Linked DNA regions of Homo sapiens: region 1 is linked to region 2. The links are contacts of gene promoters, found by promoter capture Hi-C in blood cells and fetal thymus (Javierre and others, 2016). All regions are on one chromosome and are shown on one strand. Each heading gives the region's core, a stretch centred on a gene start or on the middle of the fragment in contact. The rest is flanking DNA. Distances are from core to core; before and after follow the strand shown. Region 1 overlaps RPN1 (ribophorin I). Region 2 holds the start of GP9 (glycoprotein IX platelet).

Evidence for each region. The method cuts DNA at HindIII sites, captures the fragments that hold promoters and counts their contacts. A CHiCAGO score of 5 or more calls a contact.
Region 1: a fragment that was not itself captured here is called in contact with the fragment with the promoter of GP9 in region 2 in 1 of 17 cell types (megakaryocytes); the score reaches 6.7 in megakaryocytes.

What each region holds. Positions count from the first base shown.
Region 1 is chr3:128,613,416-128,620,278 of GRCh38, reverse strand. RPN1 (ribophorin I) reads left to right here. Exons shown (of 10, transcript NM_002950.4): 10 at 1-310. Among named protein-coding and RNA genes, the nearest start is that of RPN1, 34 kb to the left of the region's middle. RefSeq lists enhancers at 2,100-2,149, 1,865-2,376, 2,170-2,459. The HindIII fragment of the contact is 2,303 bases long and covers 2,373-4,675 here.
Region 2 is chr3:129,055,562-129,062,028 of GRCh38, reverse strand. It overlaps GP9 (glycoprotein IX platelet), which reads right to left and starts at 1,250. Exons shown (of 3, transcript NM_000174.5): 1 at 1,179-1,250; 2 at 410-535; 3 at 1-301. The coding sequence starts at 289. The HindIII fragment of the contact is 4,040 bases long and covers 1-1,935 here.

The sequences.
Region 1 (6,863 bases), core at 2,275-4,774, 440 kb after region 2:
ACCAGGCCCTGCGTCAGGCAGTGTGAGTTTGCCGTTTGTCCTTAACTTTCTTTTTTTTTTTTTTTAAAAAAAGAAAACTTTAAAAAAACTCCCATTAAAAACAAAACATCTTTGTGTTTTGAACAAAGGAATTTTCAATATTTGATTGGTATTCTGTTCTGAAGTCTAAGATATTTTTCAGCCTATAAAGCCCCCTGTTTTATGCCCTTCTAATTCTGATGTTTGGGTATTGTGTGAGTGCATGTGTTTTTTTTTTTTTTTTTAAAGCGTGTGTGAACAAATGGAAATAAAGCAGGGACTGTGAACATTTGTTTTTGGTCTGTTGAAGATCTCTCATAATTTAATTCTTAATTTTGGGAATAGTGCTTTTATCAAGTGCTTTTTATTCATTAAATAATGGATTTGCTTCTCAGCAGGTTTGCAAGGCAAGCATTTACATTTTACATATTAGAACACTGAGTTATTCTAGTACCAGAGTGTTGAAAGTGGTGCCAGAGTGTTGAAAGAGTTGACGTGGCTTATGTCACAGAATGGAGTAGTGGAGTGAGGCCTCCATTTTTGTAGTTTTTGCATCCTTCCTGTGAGTCATGTTTTACTCAGCATCAAGGAAACAGTGATGAGCAAAGCAGAGATGGTTCCTCTCAAGAGGCAAGGGATTGAAAGGTCATGTGGGGAATCGACAGTGCCAGTGAGTGCCAGGCTTTCTGCCCCTCTTTCCTCTCTGCAGGAGTTCGCTCCCTGTCTCCACCTAATGAATTCCTGCTCAGCCTCAGGATGTGTTACTTAAGGTTACTGTGTCAGGGAGCCATCCGTGGCCTGCCACACTCAGTCAAGTCCTGTGGTACCCTCTCGTTTTCCTTTGTACCTCTTCTCCACCTCATATACCACGGTTGGAATGTGTGTGATTACTGAACTAGCTTCAATAGGGCAGGGGTTTTGTCTTTTATGCTCATCTTTATGTTAACAGCTAGGTGTTCAGACCAATCTATGACACGTAGTTGGGTTATTGAATGTTTGCATGAGTGGCTTACAAACAGCTTAAATATTGGCAGGTGGGTTGAGGGATTACTGGGGAAGTCTGTAGAAGACCAGTTGTGAGGAACTGATGCTGAATTCTGTTTCAGACATGGCAAAATGGAGGTGCTCGGGACATCCAAGTGGGAGTGTCCCTGGGCAGGTGGATATTCAGGCCTGGAATTATAAGGTCTGGTGTGCAAGTGGTAAATGTGGGGCTGCCGGGCCTAGACATGGTTATGGAAAAGGTGAGAAGGAGGCTGTGGGAGGGGACAGTGCCTAGGAAGGGTATAGAATAAGAAGAGATCCAGAACTGAATATTAAGACGACAAAGTAATAGTGGCCACCTGGGTTGACAAAGACCAGGACTCTCCTTACCTGGGACGAGAAAGACCAGGACTGTGGTGTCATGAAGCCAAGTGGAAAAATGTTTCCAGGAGTGAACCATCTGAGGCTGAAGAGACCGAGCAGTGCCTTTTGGCTGTAGGAGTGGATCACTGAAGCCTTTTACCCATTGGTGACTTGAGAACTGTGTTGGTGTGGGGATGGGAATTGGACGGAAGTGAGACTTAACTTTGAGTCCTGACAAAGCATTTCGCAAACAGGCTGGGAAAGGGATGAGTGAGGGCCTTCAGGAGGCTGTGCTGCTTGAATGTTCTACTCTAAGGTTGGGGACACCAAGTGTGTTGAATGCCATTGGGAAAGATCCAGTTGAAAATGAGAAGTTGAACATAGGGATTAGGAGATTGTGCAGGGGGAAAATGGGGGATCCAAGGACAGTGGAAGGATGGGAGGAGCAAGAAGGAAGACCCTCCAGAGTCGTGCTCTGCAGTCGGATCCCTGGATGGAAATCCCAGGCCTGCCGCTCTCTGTGACCTCAGGCAAGTCTTTCCGTGCAAAATGGAGTAGGGCTGTTACCTGCTTCCTAGGATGGCTGTGTGGGTCACATGCTGTCATAATGCAAGGTGGCGTATAGCAAATGCTTGTTAAACAGCGACGGTCTCGCCGAGCTCTGGCCTGAGCCGGGGGCAGAGGGTTGGTCCTGTCCTGGGGGTTGGAAGCCGTGGAGGCCACGTTTAATCAGTGTTCACAGTGGTGTGCCCGTGGACCTGGCCTCACGCACGCCCGGCCTTGGGAGCCCCTGCGGGAGGGTGCATACCCTGACCTGCCCGAGAGGCGTCTGCCGCAGCCCCTGCTTCCCCTAGGGAACCCCCGGGCGGCTGTGCCTCACGGAGGGGCCCTGCTTTACCGCGGCTGCATACCACCTCGGGCCATTTGGTCAGCTGCTTCACCAGCTCTCTTCATCCTCTTACTCTCCCTGAATCTTTTTCTTCGTTTTTTGGAGCAGTCAGAAAGCTTGGCCGAAATCAAGATAACTCGCTGGGCCCGCGTGCAGATTGGTGGGCGCCCTCTGCTGGGCCGGCGGGCCTCTCGCAGGCCTGAGGAGCGAGCTGCGCCTGCGCCCTGGTGTCCCTTCGTAACACTGCGGCACGTCACGAGGCGGGCACCGGGGAGTATGGGCGAAATCGCAGGCGCAGACGGCGGGCTCGGGCTAGAAAAGTCGCGCATGCGTGGGGCTAATTTAAAGGCGGCGCGGCTCCAACAGAACCAAAGCCAATTCTCCGGCTGTGGCGCCACCTACGGGTGTGGGCTCGTAAACGGCCTCCTCTGGCCGGACTAGGACTGGGTCTGGGGTCGGCGGGCTCAGGACCACTGGGCTGCTGAGGGGCTTAGCCATGGGGACCTGGGCTCTCAGCTGCCCTGGAAAGCCACAGGGCTAGCTGGGCTGGCCAAGGCCGGTGGCTCCCCCAGCATCCTGTGGTGGGTGCATCCCTGGGCCCAGTGGGGCATCCGGTGCTGCCCTCCCCACCTACGGGCTTACATCCTTTGGTTGCTGGGACAGAGCGCCCTACGCCACGCGCAGCCCTGCGCTTCCCTGATCCTCGGTTTCCCCAGTAGTAAACAGGGCCTCAGTTTCCCCCTTGTAAATCTCAGGGAGGAGGTGAAGTGGGGCCCTAGGTGTAAAGCCAGGTTCAGGCTGGGCATCCCTTGGCGCAAGGTGACATGCCCCAGACACCTGACACCTCTCAGTCTCAGACCCAGCGTACTTTCTCTGTGGCCCTCATGTGGCCGTATAGGAGTGGCCCACCCACTCCCACTCCCATTCAGATCCCCAGGCCACAGTGCCTTTTGTCCAGCCTTGGCCAAGATGCCTGACCCTAGTGGCCTGGCCCTGGCTGCTTCCATGGCTGCAGCTTTGGGATGTCCCTGTAGTCATAGGTGGCCTCATGGCAGTCCCCCAGCCTTGAACCTGGACCCTGGCTCAGGGAGGGGAAAACACGGCTGAAGAAGGGCTGGGTGTCACTTTCTCTCTTCCATTTGTCTTGGAGGCTGTCATGGGAGAAAACCCCAAAGGACCCAGTGCGCCCTCACAGTTTCACCACAAGTATCCTGACCGGGCGTCTGGTGCCGAGCTGATAGTGCAGGCCCCGGCCGCAGCCCCGCCGGAAGCCCATGCTGCCAGCGGTTGGGGGCCGCAGGCTCAGACAGGAAATGCCCCCGAGTGTACCCCAGGGCCCTCTGCAAAGGCCTGATGCTTTGGATGAGGCCTGGCGCCATTTTGAAGCTGGGCCTGACTCTGGGACTCTGGCCTGGTTCTGGGGCTGGTGGCCTGGGATCTGGGGACTGCTTTGTCACCTGCCTGGGCAGGTGTGGGAGATGACAGGGAGGGAAGAGAGAACCTTCAAACTGGGCTAGACCTGAAGCGAAAGCTGAATGATGCAGCCTGTCCCCTACCATGGCCAACCCCTTCATGGTGCCCCCAGCCCAGCCCTTTAGGGTCTCAGCTTCCATCAGGCCCTTAGTTCCATATGTGGTGTGACAGGCCCAGGACTAAATGCAGGGGACACAGAAGGGAGCAGACAGCAGAAGTGCTGGGCATCAGGAAAGGCAAGTCAGAAGGTAGGGCCATCAGGAGGGTCCATCGCAGCATCTGAAGGATTTGCTTGTGGGGGTTGGTGGGGAGGGAGGAGCCCAGACTCCTTTTTTGACTTCCACTCAGGGGATAGAATCCAGAAAGATTTAAGACGAGTGTCTCAGTCTGTTAAGGCTGCTATAACAAAATACCATAGACTGGGTAGCTATAAATAGAAATTTGCTTCTTACAGTTCTGGAGGCTGGGAAGTCCAAGATCAAGGCACCGGCAGATTTGGTGTTGAGAGGTCCTGCTGCTTGGTTCAAAGATAGCACCTTCTCGTGTCCTCACATGGTGGCAGAGATGAGGGAACTCTCGGATGTATCTTATAAGGGCACTAATGTCCATTCATGAAGGCTCTACCCTCATGGCCTAATCACCTCACAAAGGTGCCACCCTCTAATGCTTCACATTGGGGGTTAGGTTTCAACATAAGAATTCTGGGGGGATGCAGACATTCAGTCTGTAGCAGTGGGAAGGACAGGAGCCTGTTCAAATGCTGATGGGAAGGAAGGAGGTAACAGGGACATAAAGGCTGAAGATCCAGGAGAGAAGGGGCCAGTGAATAGATCCCAGTAGAGCAGGATTGGGTGGGATTGAGGGCTTAAGGCAGTGATCTCATGGGAGAGCCCTGAGAGACTGTGCCTTCATTAGCACTGAGGAGATCAGCAAAGACCTGTTCAAGCTTCGCCTCCTGGGCAGCCTTCCCTATTCTCCAGGTGGGCTGAGATGTCCCTACCTTACACTACTGGACACTGCTTTCTGAAGTGGAATGGACTGTTTGCCTCCCTACACTGGGTGCTCTATTTCAGCAGAGTTTAAACAGAGGCAGCACATCCATTCATTCAACAAATATCTTCAACTGAGTGCAGTGGACTTTATAAATGTCCTCCCAACACTTTGGGAGGCTGAGTTGGGAGGATCATTTGAACCCAGGAGGTTGAGGCTGCAGTGAGCTATGATCACACCACTGCACTCCAGCCTGGGTGACAGAGAGAAACCCTGTCTTGAAAACAAAAACAATTTTTGTATTTTTTGTAGAGACGGGGTTTTGCTGTGTTGCTCAGGCTGGTCTCAAACTCCTGGGCTCAAGTGATCCACCTGCCTTGGCCTCCTGAAGTGCTGAGATTATAGGCATGAAGCACCATGCCTGGCCTATTTGCCATTTTTAAATAATGGATGAGGTTGGTCATTTTTCCTTGTGAATTTGCCTTCTTATGTGTGGTTTATGCATTGTTGAGGTTTTTGCCTTTTTCAAAGGTGAGTAGGAAAGCTAGTAACAGAAAAATGGGTGCTCATTGTTATTTCTTTTTTTTTCTTTCTTTTTTTCTTTTTGAGACAGAGTCTTGCTCAGCCACCCAGGCTGATCTTGCCCGGGTGCAGTGGCGTGATCTGGGCTCACTGCAACCACCGTCTCCCAGGTTCAAGGGATTCTCCCACCTCAGCCTCCCAAGTAGCTGGGATTACAGGCACCCACCATCATGCCTGACTAATTTTTGTATTTTTAGTAGAGACGGGGTTTCACCATGTTGGCCAGCCTGGTCTTGAACTCCTGACCTCAGGTGATCCACCCACCTCGGCCTCCCAAAGTGCTGGGATTACAGGCATGAGCCACTGCATCCGGCCTCATTATGATTTCTAAAAGTCAGCAACTCCGAGGGTAGACAGGAGTGTTCAGGAAAGGGCGCTGCCCTGGGAGGGACAGGGACTGGAAGACCAGAGGGAGGGCTGCATGCGTATTGTTACAAATAAATGCAATCTGAATGGCTAAAAACAAACAAACAAACTATACAAACACACACCAAAGAAAAATCCACTTTGTAGTGGGCACTGTTTTGGGCACCAGCAATATGATAGTGATAAATGCTATGAAGGAAATAAAATGGGTGATATGATAAATGGATGTAGTCTGGAGGGTCAGGAGGGCATCCCTTAGAGGAGACTCCTGAGCTGAGACCCAGGACAGCTGAGAGCTGGGCAGGGTGGTGTAGCAGGGTGTGGGCTGGGTGGCCATAAATCCTTCAGCCTCTTTTCTCTTGGCCTCTTCCTCACCCCATCCAGGCCTCTGGTGGCTGCAGGACCTCCTGCCTGCAAGTCAGGTCTCATGCATACCTGCCCTCTAGAGCGCTCCAGCTTCTCAGCTTCCAGCTTCCTCTCCCCTAGGCTTGGGTCCTGGTGCCTGCAATGGCCCCAGCACTCATGCCCCCTAGACTTTGCGTCAAGGAGCTGTCATACTCATGCCAAGCTCCTGATGGGTGTCTGACCCACTCAAGCCTCCGGGCTTTCTGTTTCTCTTCTCTGAGCCTCACATTGCTCACCTGGAGAATGAGGACCATAACGATATCAGGACTGGAAGGAGCTCAGAGGTATGCTGCCTGGGAAAGCCCCTGGCGCAGCACCGGCTCAAGGAGCAGGAGTCTCTTCCTTTGACAGATACCAGGGTGACAAGTATAATGCTTTGATTTGAACTAAGAGTAGCTGTTTACAAAGTGCTTTCTTTATAAATGTCCATTTATTCATTGGTTCAGACTGCAGATCGAGGTCTCAGCAGTCTGAACCACCTATTGGGTTGGAGCCCTAGGTGTGGAGGGAGAAGCCAGCCCTCGCTGAGACAGACAGACCTGGGACAGGTCCCTCTCTGCAGCCGGCACCTGTGTGAACTTGGGCAAGTCCCTGACCTCTCTGGGCCTCAAGTCTTACTGCACAATGACAGATGTCCAAGGGCCTTCTAGCATTGATGAGCTGGGATTCTGGGGCCAGTTAGTGCAGGCAGAGTCCCAGAAGCAGCCTCAGTGGAGGGAGGGAGGAAGCACAGATTTTTGTTTTTATTTTATTTTTCCAAATTCCTGTTCCTCCACAGTGCTGGGATGAGGCA
Region 2 (6,467 bases), core at 1-2,500:
GCAGATAGGTGAGGCTGCAGTCACAGTGCCAGGGGTTCTGCGTCACATCGAGGGTCTGCAGCTGGGGCAGGTGGTCAAAGGCTCCCGGGGGCACGGACTGAAGGCTGTTGTTGGCCAGCAGAAGGTGGCGGGTGCGGGCCGGCAGGGCAGGCAGGGCCGTGAGTCCGTGGCCCCTGCAGTCCACCCACAGCCCCATGGTTTCCAGGGCGCGGCAGGTACATGGGCTGGGGCAGTCCTTGGTGGCCTCTGCTGTGGCCCAGAGCAGGAACAGGGCTCCCCAGGCAGGCATGGGACAGGCTGGCTGCAGAGAGAGGGGCTGTGAGGGAGGGCCTGGCAGCCTGGACCGATCCTCAGGGACGGCAAGCACTGGGGATGTAGCGGAGCCTGACATGGGACGGGGTGCACTCACCTCCCTTCTCGGGTCTCAGCCTTCTCCTCTGGGAAACCAGCTGGTGACTAGGGAAGGTGGAGTGTGCCCAGCCCAGGCCTGGCTAACTGTCTCTGGACACCGTAGAAGGCCGGGCGGTGAGGGCGGCTGTGGATTGGGTAAGTTTGTTTTTGGGAAGGGGAAGGGACTTCCTGGCCCTTAGCAGAGACCCCATCCCCTGCTTGGGGATGAGAGGAGCAGATGGCTGCTAAATGAGTCCCAGCCCAGGACCACAGTCCCCAGAGACTAGGAAAGAGCCTTGGAGGGCCCTGCAGGCTGCGCCCAGCACCCCCCACCAGCTAAGTGAGCTGTTACCTGATTCCCAGATGCAGAAGACAGCAGGACAGGGACACTGGCTGGAGCAGGGAGGGGAACTCAGTGGGACCCCATCTGGAAAACCACTCATCTGGGCTAACACTGACTTGGGGAAACTGAGGCCCAGAGAGGGAAAGCAATGTGCCCAGGGCCACCGGTGTGGTGTCAGAGGCCAGACTCACACTCGGGTCTCGGCAACCGTGGCCCTCTGTTTGGTTCTTCCCCACAGGCGTTTCCCCTCCACCAGCAGAGCTCCCCCTACCCACAGCAGGTTTCCAGTGAATAAGTGTCAAATCAACTCACTCATCTTGACTCAGCCAAGGAGATGGTGTCTCAGAGGGAATGTCCCACCCAACCCTGTCTTGTTAAAGGGACAGGAACTGACCTCCTCTCTCCCTGTGGGAGGCCATGCTGGGTAATACGGAGGGCCACTTACCTGTGAAGCCTTTGGTCAGGTGCTCCTGTCTGGCCTGAAAGGTCCTGGCTGAGGCCTGGGTGGCAACTCTATGGGATACAGCTGAGGTGGCCGCTGCGGGAGCGGGCGGAAGGAAGTGATGAAAATAGCCTGGCTTATCCCCCCAGTGCAGCCTTGGGGCCTATTTCCAGAGGCAGGAGGCCCTCAGGGGCCCGCGCCTTGGGCACAGAACCACATCTCAACCCCGGTTTATAGAAGGGGGTCCCACTGTGCCGCCAGTGCCTTGATGGGCTTTGGAATCAGGTCTGTGGAGGACTGAGGGTGGCCCCTCACCTGCTCCCAGAAGGTGGGAACTAGGAGACCCCTGAGAAACGTGGCTCTGCTGGTTGTTCCTCCGAATCTCAGTTTTCCTCATCTGTAAAGTGGGAGCAGTGACCGGTCCTGCCTGCCTCACAGAGGTGTGGGCTGGGCAGCTCCCACTGGCTGAGAACACCATGGTGGGGAGAGTGACTTCATTTTTAACTCTCCTCCCTCCTCCTGTATACTCAAGGACGGAGTCTCTTCTTGGTGCCATGGTGTTTTTAGCTCCTGCCTAGTGCTTCTCCATGCCTCTTTCTAACAAACAGCTGTAGGCCTGGGAAGCAGAGCCTCTACCAAGTGTGAATCTCTAGCTAGAATTTTGGCCTATGGTTTTAACATTTGCAGTACATTTTCTTCTAGAGCACATTCTACTTAGGGGAGGGACACCATTTTCCATTTATGTTAGTGACATAAAGCTTCCTTTAAAAGATAAATATATTTTGGGATGGAGAATTGCTTGAACCCAGGAGGCAGAGGTGGCAGTGAGCCGAGACCGTGCCATTGCACTCCAGCCTGGGTGACAGAGCGAGACTCCGTCTTAAAAAATAAATAAAACAGGGTAAAAACACAGAAGTTACAGAAGCCTGGCAGGAAAAGCCAAAGACAGAAGGCTGACGGAGGCTTTAAACGCACTTCGTTGACATTCAGGACCCTCGGGAATATTCCTCGGCCCTACGGGGGTGGGGGTGTGCTTGTTCTTATTTTGGTCTCACATCCTTCTCAGGCCAGCCTTCCTCCTCCTGCATGGCCAAGCAGGGTGAGTCCTTCCTTGGGAGGCCGCCTGTTCTCTCCCCGCCTCCTGGTTCTGGATTTGGGTAGGGCAGGATTTGGGTGTTCACCCTCCTAGGAGGCCCTGAGAGGCTGCCAGGCCCCAGCTCTGCTTCCTCCACCCACTGATGCTGGGCTCAGAGAAGGGTGGGGAAGGTGCTGTTCCCCCACTGATGTCACACCTGCTCGGGGGCCTGGTTGCTGCTGGGGGTCCCCTGGTATGTGCTCAGTGGGGACTCTGACCGGAGCCTGGACCATGGAGAGGAGCCTCAGCCTGTCTGGCCCTTCCCTCCCTCCCCATGGAGCCTTGGCATGTTCCACCTCCTCTGCCCTGCACACATTCACCAGTGAGCCCCACGCAGGTGGGTAAGGGGTTCTGGAGTGAGTGGGGGTGCTGGAGCTGCCAGGCCAGGTGTTGTGACCAGATCTGGTGGGGCCTGTGCCCTCCTTCCTCTTGAGCCTCTGAGATTTCCTTATTTTCAGCATGTACAACTTAAAACAAAAAACTAGATCAACATAGATGGGTTTTGTGAATTTAAAAAACTACATAAATAACAAATAAATGATTTTTGTTGTGGGAAATTAGAATGTTCAGATGAACTGGAAGAAGAAAATAAAAATTTCCCTCCATCCCAACATCAGGCAAGGCTTTTTCCCCATGTGTATTTACCCATATGGGTAAATACATACCCATCTGCCCAAGAGGCACAGGATAATGCAGGAAGTGGATCTGTAAACAGCCTGGGTGAGCCTGCAAGTGGATTCTCCCAGAGCCTCCAGAGAGGAATGCAGCCCTGCCAGCAGCTTGATTTCCACCTACAAGTGATGCAGGGCAGGTGAGCCCCCAAATCAGGGCTTTGCCCCTGAGGGCTCTTGGCTTTGGCCAGGAAAGAAGTCAAAGAGCCAGTGGTGAAGAAAGCCGCTTTATTGAAGCAGCAGTGCATAGCAGAGGTGCTGCTCTCTGGGAGCAGGGCTACCCCACAGGCAGTGTGCCCAGAGCAGTAGTGTGTGGGCTTTTGGCAACTGCACTTACAGCCACTATTCATTACATGCAAATTCAGGGGCAGGTTATTTCAAACTTTCTAGAAAAGGGGTGGTGAGTTTCCAGAACCCTGTAACTTTCAGGTTGTTGCCATGGCGTGCTGCCATGGCATTTGTAAACTACCATGGTGCCAGGGGGAGTGTCTATGTTAGTGAGCAGTGAGGGCAACTAGCGGTTGCTTTCGTTCCCATCTGCTGGTTTCTGGTGTCTGCCAGCTTCTTCACTACACCTTGTTTCAACCAGATCCTGCTGCCATCAGCAGGCTGGGGACCGGGGGTCCTGACAGGTGCTCAGAAAACAGGTCCTGCTGATCTACCTCAGGAGGGCTGGAATAAGAGAACCCACAGGAGCTGTGTGATGAAGAATGAGAAAATAAATGTGTGCTGCATTAAGCCTCTTGTGACAGCAGCAATAGGAACCAAGGCGAAGGCCAAGCCCCACTCTTGTGCTGTGAGTTGTCCCCTCTCCATCCTTCCAGGACATTGCCCCATCAGGTGCCCCTTCCTCTGCATGATCAATTTCTCCTTCACTGGGTCATTCCATCAGGTTAGGAGCAGCCAGACCAGGCGCGGTGGCTCACGCCTGCAATCCCAGCACTTTGGGAGGCTGAGGCAGGCAGATCACTTTAGGTCTGCCTAAAGTGGGTTTCGAGACCAGCCTGACCAACATGGAGAAACACCATCTCTACTAAAAATACAAAATTAGCTGGGCGTGGTGGTGTATGCCTGTAATCCCAGCTACTTGGGAGGCTGAGGCAAGAGAATCACTTGAACCCAGGAAGCGGAGGCTGTGGTGAGCTGAGATCGCGCCATTGCACTCCAGGCTGAGCAACAAGAGCAAAACTCCGTCTCAAAAAAAAAAAAAAAAAAAAGAAGCAACCTATAATCCTGCCCTTTTGAAAAATCCTTCCTTAATTCCACCTCTTTCTCCAATTACCATCTGATTTTTCTGCTTCTCTCTTCCATAAAACTCCTCTGAAGAGTCACTTCTACTTGCTGTCCAACCCATCAGTAATTCCTGTCATTTCAGTCACCAGGATCTATTCAGAACTTAACCACTTCTCCCTGTGCTGCTACTGCTCTGGTCTTCGTTCGCCTTCTTGGCTTCCCATCGCAAATAAAAGAAAACCCGTGCCCCTGTGGTCAGGAAGCTACAGGCCCCCCTGTAGCTTGGCCCCTGCCTATTTCTTGACCCCATCACCCACTGTCTACTTTGCTCATCAATGTCCAGCCACACCAATTTTCTTCCTGTTGCTCAAACACTCCAGCACTTTCCTGCCTCAGGGCCTTTGCACTTGCTGTTCCCTCTGCCTGGAGTGCCCTTCCCCCAGAGCCCCACATGGCTTCCTCCTGATCATCATTCTCATCTCAATTCAGATGACCCCTCCTCAAAGGCCTCCCTTGCCAAGGCACAGCTCCATCCTTCTGTACCATAATATTCCATTTCATATCTTCCTTAGCATTGATCAGGATCTGAAATGATCTTATTTTTACATTTTTATGTGTTTATTAAATGTCTCCTCCCATTGATGTGAAACTCAAGAGGGCAGAGACTCTGTCCCATTAACTCTTCCCTCCCCAGCACCTCTGCCTGGCCCATGGGCATTATCTAATACATACTTGTCAGCCTTGCTGGCTGTCTCTTCTCTAGTGCTGGCCTTATCTGTGTCTTGCCAGGACTGCTGTCTCCTTGATGCTGGCCTCTGCCTCTACTATACAGGTTTAATCTCACTACACTCCTGCTCCATGTCTTTCATGGCTCCCTGCTGTCTTCAGGACACCCTCTGCCACCCTGTCCAGCCTCACCTCTCATCTCTTCCTGATCTGAAGCTTCGTGGTAGGCTAGCCATGTCCCTCACTCCCCACCCACATGCCAACTTCTGTCTGTGCTTTTGCCTCTGCACTGCCCTCTTTCTGGAGCCCTGTGGAATTTTGCCTGGCATGCTGCATCCTTTAAGATTCACCGGGGGCATAACTTCTTACGGGAAGCCCTCCTCGACGCACTCACCCAGCCGTTTGCTTATCTGTTTGCAAATGGGCCCAGCAGCTCCTTGGAGAACCTCAGCACCCACTAGGGAAGTGTTCGCAGATCTTGTGACTAAAAGTTGGTTGAGCCTCTCAGGCAATTTCAGGTGATACATGCCTATGACACAAATAACGAGAAACATGAGGGAGACAGCCACTCCTTTCTTGTCCCCTGAGCTGAAGGAAACAGCCTCTGTTTGGTAATCGTATTATGAGGCAAACTGCTTAGGTAAACTTACTTTGGAGGCTGGGATCTTTCAATATCCCCCAAGACAATTTTTCCTTCTCATGGGAAGCAGAGGGGATTAAGAGGCAGTGATTATTAGGTAGCATTTTTAGCCTGTGTGCAACCAACAGGAAATGGGTAACCCTGTCTGCCACTGTTGGACCCCCTTGGAACAGAGCCTCTGCTTGCTGGATCTTTGCAGATGCAGGTCTCCGTCACCCCGGCTGTTCTGAGCCAGCCTGTGGAGCAGCCTGCCTTGCTCTGAAACCTGGTTTTGCTACTTACTTGCTCTGTGACCTTGGGCAATAGTCTTAGCCTATCTCTGCCTCAGTTTCCTCATCTGCAGAATGGGGAAAATCAAAGACCCCACCTCCCAGACTGCTGTGAGGAAAGAGTGAGATAAGCCTGACAGGTGCTTTGCTGGGGGTCTGGCCACAGCAGGCACTGTGGAAGTCATCATGGGCAGGGGCCACTGGCACACTGTCAGGGAAGAAAGGGGGGCCTGACAGCCAGGCGTGATGGCTCACGCCTGTAATCCCAGCACTTTGGGAGGCCGAGGTGGGCGGATCACTTGAGGCCAGGAGTTCAAGACCAGCCTGGCCAACATGATGAAACTGTCTCTCTACTAAAAATACAAAATTTAGCTGGGCGTGGTGTCACGCGCCTGTAATCCCAGCTACTCGGGAGACTGAGGCAGGAGAATCGCTTGAACCTGGGAGGCGCAGGTTGCAGTGAGCCGAGATTGTACCATTGCACTCCAGCCTGGGCAACAGAGCAAGACTCTGTCTTAAAAAAAAAAAAAAGAAAGAAAGAAAGAAAAGAAAGGGGGCCCTCACACCCTTTGACGTACCTTCTCGTGTCTGAGGATTTTTGTCTCTTGTGATTAAAAG